Linked DNA regions of Homo sapiens: region 2 is linked to region 1. The links are contacts of gene promoters, found by promoter capture Hi-C in human tissues and cell types (Jung and others, 2019). All regions are on one chromosome and are shown on one strand. The core of a region is centred on a gene start or on the middle of the fragment in contact, and the rest is flanking DNA. Distances in the headings are between cores, read along the strand shown.

Region 1 (5,143 bases), core at 1,641-4,140:
AATCCCCCATTCAGAATTCTAGGGAAAGGATTCATAGACTTCTTGAATCCCACTCATGGATCTCAGTTTTAAGAATCCTGGTTCATGCAAATCAAGACCACGATGAGATACCATCTCACACCAGTCAGAATGGCAATTACTAAAACGTCAGGAAGCAATAGATGCTGGCGAGGCTGTGGAGAAATAGGAACACTTTTACACTGTTGGTGGGAATATAAATTAGTTCAACCATTGTGGAAGACAGTGTGCGGATTCCTCAAGGATCTAGAACCAGAAATATCATTTGACCCAGCAATCTCATTACTGGGTATATACCCAAAGAAATATAAGCCAGTCTACTATAAAGACACATGCACACGTATGTTTACTGGAGCACTAGTTACAATGTCAAAGACATGGTACCAACCCAAATGCCCATCAGTGATAGACTGGATAAAGAAAATGTGGTACATATACACCATGTAATACTATGCAGCCATAAAAAGGAATGAGATCATGTCCTTTGGAGGGACATGGATGAAGCTGGAAGCCATCATCCTCAGCAAACTAACACAGGAACAGAAAACCAAACACTGCATGTTGTCATTCATAAGTGGGAGTTGAACAATGAGAACACATGGACGCAGGGAGGGGAACACCACACACTGGGGCCTGTCGCAAAGTCTGGGGCAGGGGGAGGGAGAGCATTAGGACAAATAACTAATGCATTCAGGGCTTAAAATCTAGGTGATGGGTTGATAGGTGCAGCAAACCACCATGGCACATGTATACTTATGTAACAAACCTGCATGTTCTGTACATGTATTCCGGAATTTAAAGTAAAAAAAAAAAAAAGGACATTCTGACACATGCTACAATATGGATTAGGTATCTAAAACAGTCAAATTTCATAGAGAGAAAATGTAGAATGGTAGTTGCCAGGGGCTGGAAGAGGGGAATGAGGAGTTACTATTTAATGGGAACAGAGTTTCAATTTTCAAAAATAAGAAAGTAGTGGCGATGGATGGTGATGATGGTTGAAAAACAAGGTAAATGTACTTAAGACCAATAAGCTGAATATTTAAACATAAAAGGATCCTGATTCATAGAAATCAGTAAACAAAACATGAAAACTTAGTTTACCTATATAAAAATAATACTAATTATGGTTGCTTACACAAATAGCTTATATTTCCATAACGTGGTATAGAAACTATTTTGCATATAATTATGTCAGATTAACTTTGTTATAAGTTAGATTTGGTTATAAAATTAAACTAGAATCAGGCTCCACTTTATCAGCTGTTGTGCATGTGGCACAGATTGCCTACTCACAATTTTAAAAGGAAACATTGGAGAGACAATTTCTTAGGAGCTAGAAAGGTGCCTTTTGTTTTATGTTAAAATTATTTCCGGCCGGGCGCGGTGGCTCACGCCTGTAATCCCAGCACTTTGGGAGGCCGAGGCGGGCGGATCACGAGGTCAGGAGATCGAGACCATCCCGGCTAAAACGGTGAAACCCCGTCTCTACTAAAAATACAAAAAATTAGCCGGGCGTAGTGGCGGGCGCCTGTAGTCCCGGCTACTTGGGAGGCTGAGGCAGGAGAATGGCGTGAACCCGGGAGGCGGAGCTTGCAGTGAGCCGAGATCCCGCCACTGCACTCCAGCCTGGGCGACAGAGCGAGACTCCGTCTCAAAAAAAAAAAAAAAAAAATTATTATTTCCCAGGTTGGAAATGTGTGCGTTTATGGAATAAATTGGTAGGTGAGAGGCTGTGAGGCAAACTGGAAGGTGGTTAGGCTTCAAAAGACAGAAGAACTTGGGCTAGAATCCCAGTACTTTTACCACTTGCAAGCTAGCAAGTCCTTTAAACCCTGGCCTTCACGAACTTCATTTTTAAAGTGAATAAAAGTACCTTTTTGAGAGGCTTCTACAAGGATTTGGGACAATGCAAACAAAAGTGCTCAAGCTGCACTAGATCCTAAATAAATGGTGCTATTTATGGTGAGTCGGTGTTACACAACTAGTGGCTATGGCACCCAGAGCTTCCAATGCCAAATCATCAAACTGGCATGAGATTCCCGAGTTCAGGGGACAATTGCTTACTTTGTTGGAGGAGGACTAGATGTGAACAAGGCTGATAAATGTTGACATTCCCAAAGTGCCGGGACGCCAGACGTGAGGTTACAGCATGTCCTTCCTTTGCTAGTACAACGAAGCATGACTTGTGAATGTCACTTTTTTGGCTTTTCAGGAAGCCAGTGCAGTAACAAAGTGGCTTAATGATCCAAAACTAACATACACAAGGTAAGAATCAGTTCAATAATAACATCGTTTCCTTCCTTACTGTTGACTTCCTTGTTTTTTCTTTCTTTGCTCAGTGAATATCAACACAAAGACTAATAAATCTTCTGACACTTTTTTTGTCTTCCAAGAATATATTTTCTTGTCTGGCTAAGGGCCATCACCTTCCCTGACTCCTTTGGGAATAATGGGTGCATTTCTTACAGTCACATCACCCGATTTTCAGGCCAAAGTTTTCACGCGTTGGGTGGAAGGCAGTGTGGCATGGTGGAAAAGGTAGAGGGCGAAGACTCAGGCCACCTGGTCCCCGTCATCATTTCTGCATCTATCTGTCTATATGAAGTGGGCTGATGGCTGTGCCAGTTTCCTCATTTGCACAGCGCACGAGGTCCCGCTTTCGGTGAGCTTTTATCGCATACATGGTAAGCGGTGATCGGTAGGACCCCGGAGCCCTCTTGGGCGTTCGGCTTGGGCTGCACTTGCACTGTGTGGCCAACTGCGACCGTGGCGCCGTGACGGGAACGGCGGGTTGCGCGCGCAGCACCTCCGTCGCCTCCCGATCCAGCGTCTCCGTTGCCAGGAAAACAGAGCGGCGCGCTTTCCGGCGCAGTCGCGGCGCGTCGCAGCTGTCATGGCGGAGACCGTCTGGAGCACTGACACCGGGGAGGCAGTGTATCGCTCCCGGGACCCCGTGCGCAACTTGCGCCTCCGGTAGTCGCACCGCCCCAGCCCCGAGGCCCCATGCTTTTGTGTCCTTAGATCATTCCAACCTGAGCTCGGTGTTCTGAGGTCCCCACTTTCTGCTTACAATCCCGACCACTTCTCCGGGCTCCCCACTTCTTTCACTATCCGTACCCCCATCCACTCACAGCCTCTAAGAACCCCTTACAGACCTACCCAAGTCCATTCACGTCTTTGTTGCTCCCAGTTTCTCAAAGCCCTGTGCCCCCAGTACACCCTCTCCCCTTCATTCTTCCCCATAGGACGGCGCACCCACCCACCTCCTCTCCGTTGTCTGCACCCAGCACACCTTGGCAACCCTACCTCCTCTGTTTTGTTTCCCCCATCCTTGCTTTGTGTTCATCTCCTGGTTGCGTGTCTGGTAACGAATATTTTGGGCTTTTCTTGACAGAGTCCACCTGCAAAGAATCACATCAAGCAACTTTCTTCATTATCAGCCTGCTGCCGAGCTCGGGAAGGACCTCATAGACTTGGCCACTTTTAGGCCTCAGCCAACTGCCAGTGGGTGTTACGGTGGTGATGTGCCATCTAATACTAATTATGATACTAATCAGAATTGTGGCCAAATGTAGTGAGATAACAAATACTATACTTCTGATATGTTATAGAGTTGCCCGGCAACCTACATTCTATTTGTGGCTTTTTTTTTTTTTTTTTTTTTTTTTTTTTTTTTGAGACGGAGTCTTGCTCTTTCCCCCAGGCTGAAGTGCAGTGTCGCTATCTCCGCTCACTGCAAGCTCCGCCTCCCGGGTTCACGCGATTCTCCTGCCTCAGCCTCCCGAGTAGCTGGGACTACAGGCGCCCGCCACCACGCCCGGCTAATTTTTTGTATTTTCAGTAGAGGCGGGGTTTCACCGTGTTAGCCAGGATTGTCTCGATCTCCTGACCTCGTGATCCGCCCGCCTTGGCCTCCCAAAGTGCTGGGATTACAGGCGTGAGCCACCGCGCCCGTCCTATTTGTGGCATTTTTAAAAGAGAAAACGTGCCCCAAACCCTAAATACACATATAAACACTTTTAAAAACAATTTTTAAACTGGAGACTGCTTGCAAAATCTGCATATGATGTGCATGTATAGATCAACTGTGTTCTTGTGGTTTTCCTTATCTGGGAAACCAAAAGAATGAGGAGGAGAGGACAGAGTGGTTGTTGTCAGGTCACTAGTCTGTTTGCTTTTATTGTTTCTCTTTCTGTTCAGAGCTGTTCCTGGGCAAGAGTGTGGGCTCACAGGTTGTGAAACGTGTCTCTGAAAAAGGCATACCCAAGAGTGTATTAGATTAGATTTGTTTTCTTTGTTTTTGTTTTCGTTTTGTTTTGAGACAGAATCTCATTCTTCTGCTCAGGCTGGAGTGCAGTGGTATGATCATAGCTCACTGTAAACCTTGGTCTCCCAGGCTCAAGCCATCCTCCTGCCTCAGCCTCCCAACTAGCTGGGACTACAGACTCACACTCAGTTTATTTTTTTTTAAAGTTTTAGTAGAGAAAAGGTCTTGCTATGTTGTCCAGGCTGGTTTCAAATTCCTGGGCCCAAGTGATCCTCCCACCTTAGCCTCCCAAAATGTTGGGATTACAGGCGTGAGTCACTGCATTCAGCCAGATTTGGTTCTGTTAAAAAATCATTTATTTGCCTTCACTGTCCTCTCCTTACACTTGGTCTCCTAAATTTCAGTGTTTGTGATTCTACATATATGGCTTTAGAAATAGTAAAGATAAAAATGCCAGGGTTATTTTCTAGCAAATGCAGACAGTTGGGACTGAGGAAGGGCTGGCTATTCAGCTTATATCTAAATTTCAGTTTCTTATATCCAGTTAGATTAGATATTTCCTGGAGCGGGCTGAGCGCCGTGGCCCACGCCTGTAATCCCAGCACTTTGGGAGACCAAGGCAGGTGGATCACCTGAGGTCGGGAATTCAAGATCAGCCTGGCTAACATGGCAAAACTCCATCTCTACTGATAATACAAAAATTAGCTGGGTTGGTGGTGTGTGCCTGTAATCCCAGCTACTTGGGAGGCTGAGGCAGGAGAATCGCTTGAACCCAGGAAGAGGAGGTTGCAGTGAGCTGAAACAGTGCCACTGCACTCCAGCTTGGGTGACAGAGTGAGACTCCATCCCCCCCAG
Region 2 (4,970 bases), core at 1,604-4,103, 240 kb after region 1:
ATGTTGATTAGTCCTATATTAATAATATCAAACTTCCATTTTTAAAGACACTTGCTTTTTTTTTTTTTGATGGTTTTTTTTTTATAGCAAAGAGTCCTTTTCTCTTTTATATTGATTTTTGCTAGTTCTCTAGACTTTTTAGTGCTTGTTTATTTTGACCAATATAGACACAGCAGCAAAAAAGATGCACTTACTAAGAGCTATCAGGTTAAATGGTTAAGATCACAGAAGCATGAGAAGTCAATTTTGAAAAAAAACGGCAACAGTTTTACAGGTAGATACAGTGTTTTTGGTTTGTCTTTGTAATAGCATGCATGAGTGAAGAGACCAGTAACCAAAAGCAGCAGCAGCAGCAGCAGCAGCAGCAGCAGCAGCAGCAACAACAACAACAACAACATGTGACAAGCTGGCCAGGGAAGCAAGTAGAAACACTGAGACTGTGGGAAGAAGCTGTTAAAGCAAGGAAGAAAGGTAAGGCACAGCTTCCAGTGTTGAAAATATGGCTAGAGAAGTGTTTTCATTTAGTATGCCAAGTGATCAAAGTAGAGAAGCCACAGTTTTAGGAAATCTAGCTTAATGGAAACATGGAAATAGTGCATGCTGGGAAATATCTGGTAAAGTATAGTTATTGGCAATAAAGTGTCCAGATAAGTTATTACTAGGAATTAAAAGTTCTCAGTACTTCCTATCATGTTCTTTCTTTTGATGTACTTTTTGCTACAAACCTGGATCCAAATTTGGTCCTTTGCTATGCTCAGAGTTGCATTTTTATATTCAATTTGATGTCAACCTCCATGCATTATGGGCTTTTTTTTTCCTTTCTAAAATATTCCCACTTTTAGAGGTGGATATCCTTGTGTGTACATAAGTTCATTTTCTTACAACTGTGCTATTTTTGCTCTGTAGTGTTCTTTTTCATTGTATTATTTATTACATGTTTCAGATTCTGTAGTGTTGATGTCTTTTCTCTTGGTCACACCCTTAATCTCCTTCAGTCTATCACTGGCTGGCCTTAACATATCTAGTCTTCTGCTGCTGAGGACTTTACTGTAATTGTTTAAAAAATTTTAAATGGTTTGCTTTTCTCTCGTGTATATTTTCTAACGAATCAGTTGGAGTATCAGTTTTCAACGTACTTTTCAACTTACTAGTACAGCTTTGGCTTCTGGACTATTGTGCAGCCATTTCAAATGAATCATTTTGTCAATGTATCATGAGCCAAAGGACAGATTTGTAAATTCCTTCTTCCTCCTCCACCTCTACAATGTCTTACTATGTTAAATGTTAAGGAATCCTCTATCTGTGGGCTCCTCTGTATGTAATTCCTTTTCTGTGTAGTTTCTTCCATCTTTTGCTTTCATGTAGTGTGGCTCTTCCCTTCCTCAGAGTGATCCCTTCTGTTTTTTTTTTTTCTTTTTTAGACAGAGTCTCTCGCTCTGTTGCTCAGGCTTGAGTGCAGTGGCGTGATCTCGGCTCACTGCAGCCTCCGCCTCCTGGGTTCAAGTGATTCTTGTGCCTCAGCCTCCCGGGTAGCCAGGACGACAGGTGTGTGCCACCACACCCGACTAATTTTTGTATTTTTACTAGAGACAGGGTTTTGCCATGTTGGCCAGGCTAGTCTTGAACTCCTGATCTCAAGTGATCCACCCGCCTCAGACTCCTAAAGTTCTGGGATTACAGGCATGAGTCACCACACCTGGCCAGAGTGATCTCTAAACCTCCTATACTTGGATAAAAATAAAAGGAATAGCATTCTTTTTTTTTTTTTTTCTTTTTTTGAGATGGAGTTTTGCTCTTGTTGCCCAGGCTGGAGTGCAATGGCATGATCTTGTCTCACCACAACCTCCGCCTCCCAGGTTCAAGCGATTCTCCTGCCTCAGCCTCCTGAGTAGCTGGGATTACAGGCATGTGCCACCGCGCCCAGCTAATTTTGTATTTTTAGTAGAGACAGGGTTTCTCCATGTTGGTCAGGCTGGTCTCGAATTCCCGACCTCAGGTGATCTGCCCGCCTCACCCTCCCAAAGTACTGGGATTATAGGCGTGAGCTACTGGGCCCTGGCGACATTCTTTTTCATACATTTACTGGCATTGGAAGAAAAGAATGCAGCAGTCCGTATAGGCTTTTCATCATTCCTCAGGTGCTGCTTGTTCCTAGCTTCCATCTGAAGATTTGTCATTATTTTAATAAAATGTTTTGGCCAGGTGTGATGGCTCACACCTATAATTCCAGCACTTCAGGAGGCCAAGGTGGGAGGATCACTTGAGGCCAGGAGTTTGAGACCAGCCTGGGCAAGATGGCAAGACCCCATCTCTACAAAAACAACAACAACAACAAAAAATTAGCCGGACGTGACAGTGCGTGTCTGTAGTCCCCGCTACTCAGGAAGCTAAGGTGGGAGGGTCACTTGAACCCAGGAGTTTGAGGCTGCAGTGAGCTACAATTGCATCACTGCACTCCAGCCTGGACAACAGATTGAGACCCCCATCTCAAAAAAAACAAAACAAATGAACTTTTGTGTTAGAATGGGGAGAGGGGACGGGCAATGGGGAGGAAAAAGTGTAGTGCTGTGATAATTGTATAGTGGGTTGAAAGTATATTATGAAGGGTATTTTACTTAGAGAAGGAGTAAAAATGTTTAAGTCATAGTAAAAGGACACTCTTAGATTAAAAAGAAAACACGGAGGAGGAGGTAAGGGGGTCAGCAGATAAGAGAGTAAAAATTCTTTGGTGAAAGCAGGTGGAGAATATCCTCAGCAATACTCCCAGCACCTTAAAGTGAATTGGTTTTCTCTCTCAATCTCTCTCGGTGTACTCCTCTATTTGGTATTGTATTTCAATTTGCTTGCACAATAAGACTTGGTTGTTTAGCTCATCTTCTGACTTCCATGAAACAAAATGTTATTGTATTCCCATTTGTAGCGTGAATCTCTCTCAAAAAGACCACTGATCTTAGAAACCTCTGTATTCATGTTAGTAAATGTCACATTTTAGAGGAGAGGAGACTCCTGACCTGAAAATCTAAGCTTGAATCTATAACGTCCTTTAAATATTAGGCCTAAATAAGGTAACATAAGTTTTCAAACCTGATCGACAATCATATTGTCTGGGAAGCTTTTTAAAAATACACATTTCCCAAGTTCCATCTAAATTTCACTATTGATTCTCCTGGAGTCCTTTGTTTTTGTTTTGTTGGGTTTTTTTTGTTTGTTTGTTTGTTTGTTTTGAAGTCCTCTAGATAGTTGATTTTGATAATCAGCCAGATTTGGGAATCCCTGATAGGGAGAATGGTGTGTGCCAAAGTTACATTGTATTGATCAAGTAAGGGCTGCTTGACTCAAGGGTCCCCCTGCGGTGATAAGACCTTTGTGGATCATATACAGATCTCTATCTTTAGTTCAAGTATATTTCTCCATTTTGATAGCCAAGTCACAGCTAGCCTACCCATCATTTTACTGCTGTTTTCTGGTGCTGAATTTTGTTGAGGGGTGGGTTGGGGATGTCACCTTGAGGGGAAGTATTTTTTAAGAAGTGTCTAGACCTGGCTCACACCTTAATCCCAGCACTTTGGGAGGCTGAGGTGGACGGATCGCTTGAGCCTAGGAGGAGACCAGCCTGGGCAACGTGGCGAAACCCAGTCTCTACAAAAAACACAAAAATTAGCTGGGCGTGATGGCATGCACCTGTAGTCCCAGCTACTTGGTAGACTAAAGTGGGAGGATTGCTTGAGCCTTGAGGGTTTGAGGCTGCAGTAAGCTTTGATCATGCTACTGCACTCCAGCCTGAGCAACAGAAGGAGACCCTGTCTCAGAAAAAAAAGTGTCCAGGTTTTGTTGGATAAGAAGGACCAGGGTCCTCTAACTCACTGCAGGGTCTCCTTGCCTAGCTAGTTCTCTTTGGTATGCTTGGTGGTATGTGTAATATGTAGAGTTAAAGATACTAGGCATAAAATAGGTGATTGTGTCAACATCAGAAACAAGAAGAAATGGGAGTGAGGAGAACATGAACTTATTGAGGAGTATTTTTTTCTTTCCTAATGTAGTTAAGAAACATAACCAGAAAGAATAAGATTATTTAACTGAAACATATTTCTAAAACTGAAACAAACATGATACTAAAATAGCTTGTTTATCATTCCCCAATTATGCATTTTTAAAACCTTCACAGAATGTGGCTTCATGTCTCAGGCTTTAACATACTTATTGAGTATGCACACCTCTCTCTGCTAGTTACAGTGTGCCTTACGAGAAGATTTTTCTGATTATCTGTTATTGTGTAACCATTGGCCCAGCTCTGTGTAAACAAGCTCTTTAGCCTGGCCTGCTGGAGGTTGGCTCTTCCCAAGAAAGTTTTTAGAACTCAGAGGAACTGCATGAAGTAGTAGTGAGAACACTTAGCCCTGCATTGCAGAAGTTAACTGATCCTCTCAGCATCACTGTGAGGTAGGTAAGTAAATCTGAACTTGAAACCTAAAGTGCAAGGCTAAACAAGTTGCTTAAGTCCTTGCAGGAGGTATAGCATCAGAAGGTGATTCATACACTGGGATCCCTGGCCCCCAGGCTTGTGCTCAGAAAGATCCTCTGTTCTGTTGACCGCTTGATAGAAAACTGGAATTTGATTTATTAAATGTTTGACATTTTTAATGAAAAGAAATTGATTCAGAAACTTTGTGAATTTTGCTCACTGTTTTGAGAATCTAAAGACCCTTTTTCTTCTTATTTTAGAAGCTGCTAACCTGTGCCAAACCTCCACGGCTGCTACGACACCTGTGACTCTCACTACTCCATTCAGTATAACATCCTCTGTGTCGTCTGGGACTATGTCAAACCCAGTCACAGTGGCAGCTGCAATGAGCATGAGAAGTCCAGTAAATGTTTCAAGTGCAGTTAACATAACCAGCCCAATGAACATAGGGCATCCTGTAACTATAACCAGTCCATTATCCATGACCTCTCCTTTAACACTCACTACC

Evidence for each region. Contacts are between HindIII fragments. The study calls those that stand out against the background at their distance.
Region 2: a contact is called between a fragment that was not itself captured here and the fragment with the promoter of MKS1 in region 1, in 1 of the 25 tissues and cell types used here (mesendoderm cells).

Annotation. Positions count from the first base shown.
Region 1 is chr17:58,217,002-58,222,144 of GRCh38, reverse strand. MKS1 (MKS transition zone complex subunit 1) reads left to right here and starts at 2,890. Exons shown (of 18, transcript NM_017777.4): 1 at 2,890-2,994; 2 at 3,416-3,525. The coding sequence starts at 2,915. It overlaps LOC105371841 (a long non-coding RNA gene), which reads right to left and starts at 2,831. Exons shown (of 2, transcript XR_934884.4): 1 at 2,086-2,831. RefSeq lists an enhancer at 2,783-3,062. The HindIII fragment of the contact is 13,166 bases long and covers 1-5,143 here.
Region 2 is chr17:57,974,653-57,979,622 of GRCh38, reverse strand. VEZF1 (vascular endothelial zinc finger 1) reads left to right here. Exons shown (of 6, transcript NM_007146.3): 5 at 310-471; 6 at 4,723-4,970. Among named protein-coding and RNA genes, the nearest start is that of VEZF1, 11 kb to the left of the region's middle. The HindIII fragment of the contact is 3,172 bases long and covers 1,268-4,439 here.